Linked DNA regions of Homo sapiens: region 2 is linked to region 1. The links are contacts of gene promoters, found by promoter capture Hi-C in human tissues and cell types (Jung and others, 2019). All regions are on one chromosome and are shown on one strand. Each heading gives the region's core, a stretch centred on a gene start or on the middle of the fragment in contact. The rest is flanking DNA. Distances are from core to core; before and after follow the strand shown. Region 1 holds the start of AHCYL1 (adenosylhomocysteinase like 1). Region 2 overlaps LINC01768 (long intergenic non-protein coding RNA 1768).

Region 1 (5,364 bases), core at 2,759-5,258:
GCAGTTTTTCTGCACTTTCATTCCAGAGGGCTAACATAACACCTGGCCGACAGGAGGTGAAAGGCCTTCAGGAGGAGCACAGCCTCCCCCTGGTGGGGAGCCTGACTGGCAGGGAGCGGGCAGTTCCAAAAGGTGCCAACCTGGGCTCCCCTGAGACTCAGGGACAGTGCCCTCCACAGACATATCAAACTCAACATGTCCCAAGCTGACTCCTCTCAGCAGCCCCCCTCCACCCCTCTAGCCACACTTGCTTCTCCTCCTGTGCTCCCCAGCATGGCAGACATCACCACCACCCACCCAGGGCTTAACACGCCCTGCAGGATCTGGCCCTGGCTTCAGCGCTCACTTCACCCTGCTTTGCACCCTGTGCCCCACCCACATGGGGATATTTACAGTTCCCGTAATATGCCAAGCTGTTTCCATCACCATGCCTATTCTCAGGCTGTTTCTTCAGCCTGGAGAATCTTCCCTCCCTTGCCCAGCTGCTTATCTGTCAAGACTCAGCTCTGGCAGCATCTCCCTCTGTGTCATCCCTTTGCCCTCCACTGCACCCCACCCCCATCACCTGTCCCCACGTAGAGATCAGCACCTCAGCTTATTTATCTCTGTAGTCCCGACTGACATCTAGCCCTGCTGCTGGCACTTCTTCGGCACTCAATATATATTTTATAAATAAAAGAACAAATGACTGAATGTAGAACATCAATTTGGGGGTGGACAAACAGTGAATCTGATTAACAAGACCAAGCCCACGTGTGGTAGCCCAATGCCACTACATTTCTGGTGACAGCATCTCCCAATTCACCACTGCCCTTAGGCCACTCCTTTCTAGCAAGGGTCTTCGCTCCAGGCCCTTGGAGACTTCCCACCACCACACACAGCAGGTGCATCTGTCTTTGGGTCCCTGTTCTTCTCCAATTGCCCCGTGGGGGGTCTCTCACCTGTGTGTGGATGCGCTGTTCAGGGCAGTGAGCTTGCCAGTAGAGGTGCTGAGTCAGGTGGGTGGGTAGGCTGAAGACAAGTCATCTCTTGGCATTCATGAGAAGCAATCGCCTTAGCTGTGCCATGTGAGGCTATCTTAGGATGGGTTTTGGGGGTGGGAGACAGGATGCAATGATTCTCACGGATGTTATGTTGTCACACTCCCTGGCTGGGTGAGCTCTTTGCTCTCCAGCACACACGTGATGGAAGGGATGGCAGCCACCCATGCCCCCTGCAGTGGCTGGTTTCCAAGAATGTCCCGGGCCCCTGGCCTCACTTGAACCACATAGGCCTAATGCTTTCCACCAGGGTAGGGGGTGCTGCCCTTCCCCTTTCCAGTCTGAGTCCCCGAACTCTCCTACATCAGCTCATCAACCTCCCCTCAGGCCAGCCACTCAGGTGAGTGGAGTCTGACCTGCTGATCTCCTTCTTAGCCCAGACTGCTAAGGTACTGCATGCTCTAGGCCTGGCCCTGTCTGTCATCCTCTGTAGCAGCAGCAATAGCAGACAACACTGTGAGCCTGGTGCTAGGGCAGACCTGGTCCAGGAGGAGTAAAGACTGAACTTCAATCTCCAGGAAGCTCACAGTCTGGATGCTTAAATGCACAGCAGAACTGGGGGACTGAGAGACAACATGTTTAGACAAAGTGAGTTCTAAAAATCAAATCCAAAAGACAGATACACTGATGCTTCTCTTTAAAAAAAAAAAAAAAAAAAAAAAAAAGATCTTCTTAAGTCACACATTTTTCTACTATAGGGACTTGAGATTTCATCCCTGGTTCCAATGGGTTCTGCCTCGAGTCTTTGGGCAGGCATCTCTGATCCCTGGGCTCTGCCAACAGTTTGGGCAAACCCACAAGGATGAAAGCCACTGTGAGCCTTATGTTCAGAGAGTCCTTAGTGCACCAGGTGTGGTTCCTGACCCCTAGCTGAAAGATGTCAGTCTGGCACCCTCATGGATGAACCTGGTATTCTGGTCTCCATCTCTGTTCCCGTTCTGCTACAGTGATGCCCCTGACAGGGAAGTGTGAGTGCTCAAAAAAGTGAGCAGATGAAAGAATACAAACAGTTCAAGACCAAGGTCTGCAGATGTGCAAAGGGTGCATTCTTCCAGGCACTTCTACAGCCCTTTTCAAACAGACAGTCTCATGAGGCTAGGTGGCTGGAACACAGGATTCCCTGACTAAGACTTTTAGGGCCCTAGAGGTGAATATTTCACACTCTCCCCAGCCCTGAACACAAATCAGTGGGGAAAATGCCATTTCAAACCAAAACTTCCTTCTTGAAAGGGTATGCCCTGTTAAAAACCTGGGAGGTTTCTGGATGTTAAAAGGTGGTCCTGGCCAGGCGCGGTGGCTCACGCCTGTAATCCCAGCACTTTGGGAGGCCGAGGCAGGTGGATCACGAGGTCAGGATCCGAGACCAGCCTGGCCAAGATGGTGAAACCCCGTCTCTACTAAAAATACAAAAATTAGCCGGGCACGGTGGCGCACGCCTATAGTCCCAGCTACTCACTCAGGAGGCTGAGGCAGGAGAATCACTTGAACCCGGCAGGCGGAGGTTGCAGTGAGCTGAGAGCACTCCAGCTTGGGCAACAGAGCGAGACGTCATCTCAAAAAAAAAAAAAAGGTGGTCCTGGGGAGGAATTTAGGGAAAGGGCACTGGGAAGACTGGAATTGCTCAGCACAGCAGAGGAGAATCTGGCTTCCCAGAGTCTATCAAGGAAGGAAGGATGAGGTGCAGAGATGGGAAGGGAGGAACAGGAGGAAGCTAGATTAGATGGCAATGGGCTAGGGAGCGTGGTGGGATCTTGTGGCCATTGAGAAATCCCCGGGTGGTAAGACAGCCAAAATAACTTTTCAGAACATTTCAGAAATGTGTTCTTAAATTGTTTGCTGTGTGATGTAATCTCTCCCCTGTGACCCACAAACCTTTATTAAAAGTTTTACTACATGTTACAGCCTTATTTTGTAGTTGTTTAGCATGGGGTGGGGGTTGAAAGGAGAAGCGGCTGAATTGACCCCAGGAGCTACAGAAACAGTCACAAGACCAGAATAGTGAATAAAATGCCAGACAAGGCAAAAAAACTAGAGCCAGAGGTGACCATGAAAATCCAAGTCCTCCCAGTAATGGACTTTCCACAGGACATGGTAATTGGAGCCAATGTCATTTGAATCTCAAAGGACAAGCTACCTCAGCTGACATTAGGATACAAGCAGGTTTTGCCTCTCCAGCTGAACTAAGCCTTGCAAAACATAAAATGCGTCACATGTCCTTTTGCCAGCAGGGCCTCAGCACAGGCACTGCACATAGTAGGCCCAGTAAAAGGGTGTGAGCAGTCCATGAATGTCCTGGATGCCCACTGAGAGCTGGAAGGGTCTAATGCTTTGGTGGAGCAAGGACCGGAAGGCCATTCTGGCTGGGGACTTCTCCATCAGCTCTCCTGGTCTCCACCCTCATACCCATCAGCCCTATCCCAATGAGGGTTTTGTAAACAGGCAAGGCCCAGTCGGAGATGGTGGTGGAGGAAGTCACAAAGCGTTGTGCAGAAACCAGACTACTCTGAGTCAGTTCTGCCCCCTATGAAGTCAAAAAGACAGGCACGGCCCCTTGGGAAGGAGCTTTAATCCAAAGGGCCTGGGGCTGGGCCAGTGAGTGAGTGGGCTGTCTCGAGCCCCGGACATTTCCTAGGAATCGCTGTAGGATGTGTCGTGTGGGGCTCTGGTCTTTGCTCCCAAACACCCCTTTCATGCGCCTCTGAGGCCTTGCCAGGAACCCCGCAGCCCAAAGACCCTCCGTTCCGCAGCATCGTTGCATGAACCTCGCGCTGCTCCCAGGGCTGATGGTGCCACCTGGTGGCACAAAGGGTCCTGCTCACCCTGGGAACTTCGCTCTCGAGCGGGAGAGGAACGGCTTCTGTGGCCCAGCCCAGCGTGGTGACGTCACGACAGAGTGCCCTTTCTCCCCGCCTCTTCCCCCTCCCGGGAGCTGCCAGTACTTGACGTGGCGTCACCGCCCTCTACCCTCGCTTTGCGTGCGTGTTTGCGTACAGCGGAGGTGGCGGCGCGGGCAGGTCGGAGCTCGGAGCTGCTGTTCTGGTTCTCTTGTGGCCGCCGTCGCTGTCCGGCTGCCTTGGGCTGCCGAACAGACAAGGCGTGGGCCACAGCACCTCAGAAGCCGACGCAGCTCGACGCAGGGGCCGGCAGGAGGGTGGGCGATCGCGTGTCGGAGGGCGCCGCGCGGGCAGGCGGGCGGGCGCCAGAGGGGGAAAGAGGCGGGGGCGGCGGGTCAGCCGCTGGCCGGGCCGGCCGGGGAATGTCGATGCCTGACGCGATGCCGCTGCCCGGGGTCGGGGAGGAGCTGAAGCAGGCCAAGGAGATCGAGGACGCCGAGAAGTACTCCTTCATGGCCACCGTCACCAAGGCGCCCAAGAAGGTGCGGGGGCTCTGGGTGGCGGCGGGGGCTCGGGCTCCGGCCTCGCGGAAGGGACGCGAGCAAGCCCGGGCTCTGGCTAGTTTGGGACTTCTGGGGGTGACTGGGGACGGCGGAGGTGATGTAGGGGGTGGCGGCTGTGCGGCCCCAGGCCTCTCCCGGGCTGAAAGGCCGCCTCTGACCTCGCTTTCCTTTGTCCCTCGGCCCAAGTCCTCCGGGATCGTTTTGAAACCCGACAGGGCCAGGCCTTAAATTTGCGACTGACTTTTCCTGGATGAAGGGCCTCGAAGACGAGAGTGGGAGGGGGTGAACCAACTCAGCTGACCCTTGTGACCAGTCCGGGGGCATGGGGTGTACAGAAAATCTCCCTTCAGGTGAGTGGGTAAATCTGGCAGAACTTCCATCAAATCTTTGGGAGCAGTGGCCGCTTTATCCAACAACTGCGTGATAGCTGGGAGGCAAGAGAAAAGAATGCGTGAAGCTAGCTCTGATATACAGGTGAAAGCGATGAGGGTAACATGAAACTGAAAATCTATGATTTTCACTTTCTACAGCATTCCAATTACTTCGAAATATGTAAGAAATTGACATTTGGAGGTTGGTGACAGCAGACACTGTCATGGATACAGGTGGATCCTAGAGTCATGTGAATAGATCACTTAGGCATCCCTGGAGAAAGGAGCTTGGGTGGGTTGGAGTAGTGGGTGGTAAGGGAAGATTGCTCACTCTTGACTGTACTTTTGAGGCAGAACAAGTTTGATCTATTGTGCTGTAGGTTGACTCAAAGGACACCCTTCGAATTCTCTCATAAATGGCAACCTTTGGAGATTTTAGTCTGACTAGCTCTCCGAGTGGTGGAATTGGGATCCTTATTGCTTTCTCATCATTTACTGCCAACCACATCTTGATTTTCCATACACCTGGCACCCAGTTAGCAGTAGACCAGAGAAC
Region 2 (5,478 bases), core at 1,571-4,070, 150 kb before region 1:
ATAAACAAGCTATAGATGTATTTAAAAGGCCATTGTTTTTCTCTTCTTGGAACTTGTTTTTCTGGAAAAAGGTTTTTCCTTCTAAGTCGACTGAACTATTTTTCTCCATTTTTTTGTCTTGCCACTCTTAATACACACATCAGAGCCCCTAAGATAACTTCTGGTAGCTTGGGACTCCTTGGGAAAAACAGAGGAGGTGCTGCAGACCCCGCTTTGGGGAAAAAAACCCAAAACACTCTGTTTTCATCATGAAACCCCAGGAATTAATAGCGGATAGATCCCTCTCAAAATCAAAGGCTTGTTCTGTTTTGCATTGTGTTGTCTGACGGTTTTGAGTTTGGGGGGCATCAGAAATTACTTTGCATTATGAGAGAGCTTTGGTGTGTAATAACTAGGTAGGAAATATACTCTAAGGGATGGCTAATAGTAGTTAGGGAGGGGTACTTGACTCTTTGCACACTTGGATCAGAGAAGCATGCTCTTGGCCACCTGGAAGATAAGGAGACATCCCCACCCCCCACTGGGAGATGAGACTCTCATGAGGGATGGGCTGATTGCAAAATGGGCTGATTGGCTTTGGGTTGCTTTGCAATGAAATGCAGGGTAGAAGCACTGCACTGTCCTCTCCAGTAGTATTTCCCTCCTTTTGGGATCCAGGATCAGTATAAAATGGCACCCTTAATTTTGGGGATGTGTCTCTGCCTTCAGCTGCTTATTTGCTGCTTATTTGGCCTTAGAAATGCATGCTTTCCAGGCCCTGTTCCTCCAAGGGCTCCACCCCGAAGCCAGTAATCCAATTAAGAAACTGGCAAATGAAAAACCTTACAAGTGCCTAATCTTCTCTCTGTATATTTATATGTGTTGTATGTTTAGATATAAAAGAGCTCTGATTAATTGGCTTAGAAAAATAAGCGCTTAAATCAAATATTTTGTCAGAAAAATAGAAATTTTAATGCCTTTTTTTCTCGTCATTTTAGTAATCTTTTGGAAATAAAGACAGTTTTAAAGATTATTGGTAAAATAAAATGTCTTGAAAATGTAGACATTTGGTCTAAATTAAGATCAGGTATCAGACTTGCTAAATATTTTAAGTTCAAACTGTTTCTTTGACTTTTGAAAATTGTTCGATTTACCTACTTTGGAGCATTAGATTATAGATAATTCCTGCGGACATGGGGAGAGCCATGTCCGCTAGCTATGCTAAAAGGAGTCAGACCTTATCTTCATTTCTGTCTGATGTCCTAGGCTCCACCCCTAGTACATAATTAAAATCGCTTACTTGTCAGGTTTTTCACTAAAAATAAAAGGTGCTAAGAGTTAACATTGCAACATGTAGTCGAGACCGCTGGAGAAACAGTTTTACATACAAGGTGTGTAGGGAATGTGTTTTAGGTAAAAGATTATAAGAAGGCATGGGAATATGGCTTTTGTTAAAGGGAATGTAATTTTGTCTAGTTCAGAGGGTTTTAAAGATTGTCTTAACCTAAAAGAGTAATGGAACAAAACTGAAGGTTTAAGCAAAGTGAAAAGGGTTTGAAAAGGGTTGATCTTGTAAAACTTCTGTGGGTATAAACAAGTTGGCTAAGATTTAAAAGAAATTATTTAGCTTTTCCCCATAGGTTAAAACATTAAAATCATACTGATGTGGGGCCAGAATCTGGGCCCATGTGTACGAATAACAGGGTTTTCTTAGAAAATTGATCTGCTGTTTGATGGAAAATTGTAAAGGGTTCTAAAAAGTTTATGAAAATCTTGCCTTATGGTGAAACTAATTAAAACTGGATAGAGATATAAAATTTTATCTAAAAAACTAGCTTTAACGTTAAAAGATGCACTAATGCAAACAAGAAATTTGGTTTTCTCTTTTGAAGATGATTTTTATGTAATGTTAAAAGATAATGAAAGGGTTTTGTTTTCTCCTTTGGGTAAATGGCAGGGAAAAAAAAGAGGAGAGAGATAAGAGACAGATTGAGTTGGCCTCATGCTATCTTCATTGGGTCTTGTTTGGAAAGCTAAGTCTTCTCTATCAGAGTGAAGGTTTTTCTTTTTTAAAAATTGTTTTGGAGTTATCAATTCGGCCAAATGAATGATTTACGGTGATCTGGGATCTATTTTGTGATATCCTGTGTTTTAAACCTTTGATATTTGACAAGCTTTCCAATATCAAATTATAAATTCTGTCTCTTTCTAACCTAATATTTTAGATATTAGGTTCTTTAAAGTCCAAAAATGACATTTGGCTTATTTGGTACAAAAATCACACAGGAAGCATTGTCTGTCTCATGCGTCCATGTGAACAGACCACCAAACAGGCTTTGTGTGAGCAACAAGGCTGTTTATTTCACCTGGGCGCAGGCGGTCTGAGTCTGAAAAGAGAGTCAGCGAAGGGTGGTGGGATTATCGTTAGTTCTTATAGGTTTTGGGATAGGCGGTGGAGTTAGGAGCAATGTTTTTCGGGCAGGGGGTGGATCTCACAAAGTAAGTTCTCAAGGGTGGGGAGAATTACAAAGAACCTTCCTAAGGTGGGGGAAATTACAAAGTACGTTGATCACTTAGGGTGGGGCAGAAACAAATCACAATGGTGGAATGTCATCAGTTAAGGCTATTTTCACTTCTTTTGTGGATCTTCAGTTGCTTCAGGCCATCTGGATGTATACGTGCAGGTCACAGGGCATATGATGGCTTAGCTTGGGCTCAGAGGCCTGACATTGTCAAATATGAAATGGTGTTTGGCTTTCTTTGGTCTCTATTTGTGTAAATGTGTTATTGGTATATGTTCTGAAGTAATGTAAAACTCCTATAATTCTAATATGACTTAGTCTATGTTATCTGTAATAATTATAATTATTATGTTAACAGACTGTGTGCTACAAAGGTAAATTTCCTTGTCAATTGTGTCTTTAACTGTGGCTGCCCTAAAATGTTTTTGTCATCCACAGATAATTGCTGTCTCGTTTTGGTCCTCTTTAAAAGATGGTTTTATAATCAGTTTTAAAATGTAACAGGTGCTCTTAAATGCAGGATTCTGATAAATAACTCTGGAGATTGTGACATTTGAATAGAGGAAAAACTTTCAAATAGAAGAGTGAAGGGTGTTTGGTTCACTTTGGACTGTATTTGTATAAATATATTATTAGTATGTATTCCAAAATTATGGGAAACTTCTACAATGTTGATATAATTTAGTGTACATTGATAATAATATTGTTATGTAAAATTGTATGCCATAGAAGTAATCAAAATTCCTAGTCAATTGTAGCTTTAATAGGGCTTTAAAATTTGTGCTATTGGAATAGAGAAAAAAACCAAACTTCTAGGACTGTCATGGAGAGCTAATGTGTTAAACATTGCTAAACATTTTGTTTCCAGAGTCAAGGGAACTTATTTCTTTAGAGGTATTTGCAACTTTTAACAAATGAATAAGATATACTCCTGAGAACAAAATTTGGAGCATATTTGTTCCTCTCTACCTGATTTCTCCAGAATTTGGAAATTATTTGTGAATATTCTCAATTTATGGCAGTATAGTTAATTGTGTAAGTGCAATAAGAAGCTATTTTCTTCTGTAACAGAACACAGTTGGAGAAACTGATTATTTTACCAAGGTTTTGAATGGAATGGCATGCTTCCTTTAAAGAATCAAAGTTGACTTATAGAGCCAATTAAAGCCTGTTGGGGAATCTGACCTCATACCTTGTCTGCACAGTGTCCCCGTACAAGGTTCCTGACCTGTGGTAAGTAAGGAATTTCACTTTCTAACAGGCCCAGGAACCCCAAGTTGTCTTGGGACCTCAAGAGGAGAGGAATTTGCCCAACTCATAGGTATTTGTCGGTACAAACCCACAGCTGGGCTTGGCTTTTAAAAAGTCTTATCTGAGATTCTTCATGGAACAGAGTTCTATCAAAGCCAATTAAAAAAGTCTACATGAAAAATAATTATTCTTGCTGTACTTTTTACAAATAATTAGGCCAATTACAGTAAGACTAAAGTTTATTTTGTAAACGAATCAGTTCTATCATGATTTGTTTTTAAAAAAATGAAGACTGGAGAGAGAAAATTTATGCTTCAAAAGAAAAACTATAGTACACTGTTGTTAGCTATTCTTGAGGTTTTTTTCTGTAGTTTAGACTAAATTCCAAATTCTTTGTGGGCTAGAAGTCCTCAAACTAATGCTTTCAAATCTTTGTTTTTAAAATTGGGAATTGTACTCCTCAGCCTAGGACTCATTATTTACCTTATAATAGGCTGTTTCACTTAAACACTGTAGTAAAACTATAGTTGAGAGTACTAATGTTTTTGCCATGAAAGCCCAGCCAGGCCTGCATGAGTCACTCAGACAGTTACAAAGCAGTTCAACTCTTCTCACCTTGGGATGCACTCCCATTTCCACTACGTCCTCTGTTGGCAGGAAGAAGCCAGAGCGATTTACAACCTTTTCCCATCTTCATAGCCTACATCGTAAGACGAGGGCATTATAAAACCCAAAGGGAAGGATTGAAACTGCCTTTGCAATATTATGACTGAGACAGTGAAAGAGATCTAAGTATACTGACTCCATCTTGTTTCTAACCTCCAAGCTGTCCTTGTAGGCTGGGCATAGACTGAACTAACTTTGGGAAAAAACTTAGTTTATAGTTTAAACAAAGATGGTAACAGCCCTTTCCCAAAGCAGGCCTCCTTCTTGCATGGGAACTAGATTGCCTTTGTAGGACTAACATTAGCTGCAAGATTAGAAATTATGGTTTAGGAGTCATGCAGCTGGAGGCTACAAGATTCTGAGCCTCCCTAAATAGCTTCCAAGATCAGAGCTTGAGATATTTTGCAGACCCTGCACTTAATGGATCAGCTGGCACCACTAAGATCAATAAACTGGCTCATCTGATCTTGTGACTCCCACCCAGGAACTGACTCAGTGCAAGAAGACAGGTCCGACTCCCTATGATTTCATCTCTGACCAATCAGCACTCCTGGCTCACTGGCTTAGTTATCTTTAAAAACTCTGCTCCCCAAATGCTCAGGGAGACTGATTTGAGTAATAATAAAACTCTGGTCTCCCACATAGCTGGCTCTGCGTGAATTACTCTTTCTCTATTGCAATTCACCTGTCTTGATGAATCGGCTCTGTCTAGGCAGCAGGCAAAGCAACTTTGGGTGGTTACACAATGAAAATATTAAGAAAAAATTTTAAATGTTTTACCGAGTTCAAAACAAGGAGACTATTTTATTGATTAAAATGGTTTGGGACTTAAGCGCTTTTTAAATTAACTTCATATTTTGGAGCTGCCAGTCAGATTCTCCCAGGGCTGAGATAGTGGCACTTTGCCATAGACTGGTTTCTGCCATAGGCATGTTTAGAAGGACAATGTCCCTCTTCAAGGATGACCTGTTCTACTTTGGGTGAGGATGAATGGCAGGAAATCTTCAGGCTAGGGGTTTGCAAACAGTAAGCAATACAAATACATTTTATGTCGCAGTCC

Evidence for each region. Contacts are between HindIII fragments. The study calls those that stand out against the background at their distance.
Region 2: a contact is called between a fragment that was not itself captured here and the fragment with the promoter of AHCYL1 in region 1, in 1 of the 25 tissues and cell types used here (aorta).

What each region holds. Positions count from the first base shown.
Region 1 is chr1:109,980,757-109,986,120 of GRCh38, forward strand. It overlaps AHCYL1 (adenosylhomocysteinase like 1), which reads left to right and starts at 4,009. Exons shown (of 17, transcript NM_006621.7): 1 at 4,009-4,416. The coding sequence starts at 4,297. RefSeq lists silencers at 4,235-4,304, 4,485-4,554. The HindIII fragment of the contact is 16,487 bases long and covers 1-5,364 here.
Region 2 is chr1:109,834,603-109,840,080 of GRCh38, forward strand. The region is part of intron 4 of LINC01768 (long intergenic non-protein coding RNA 1768); the gene reads left to right. Among named protein-coding and RNA genes, the nearest start is that of LINC01768, 9.3 kb to the left of the region's middle. The HindIII fragment of the contact is 3,920 bases long and covers 861-4,780 here.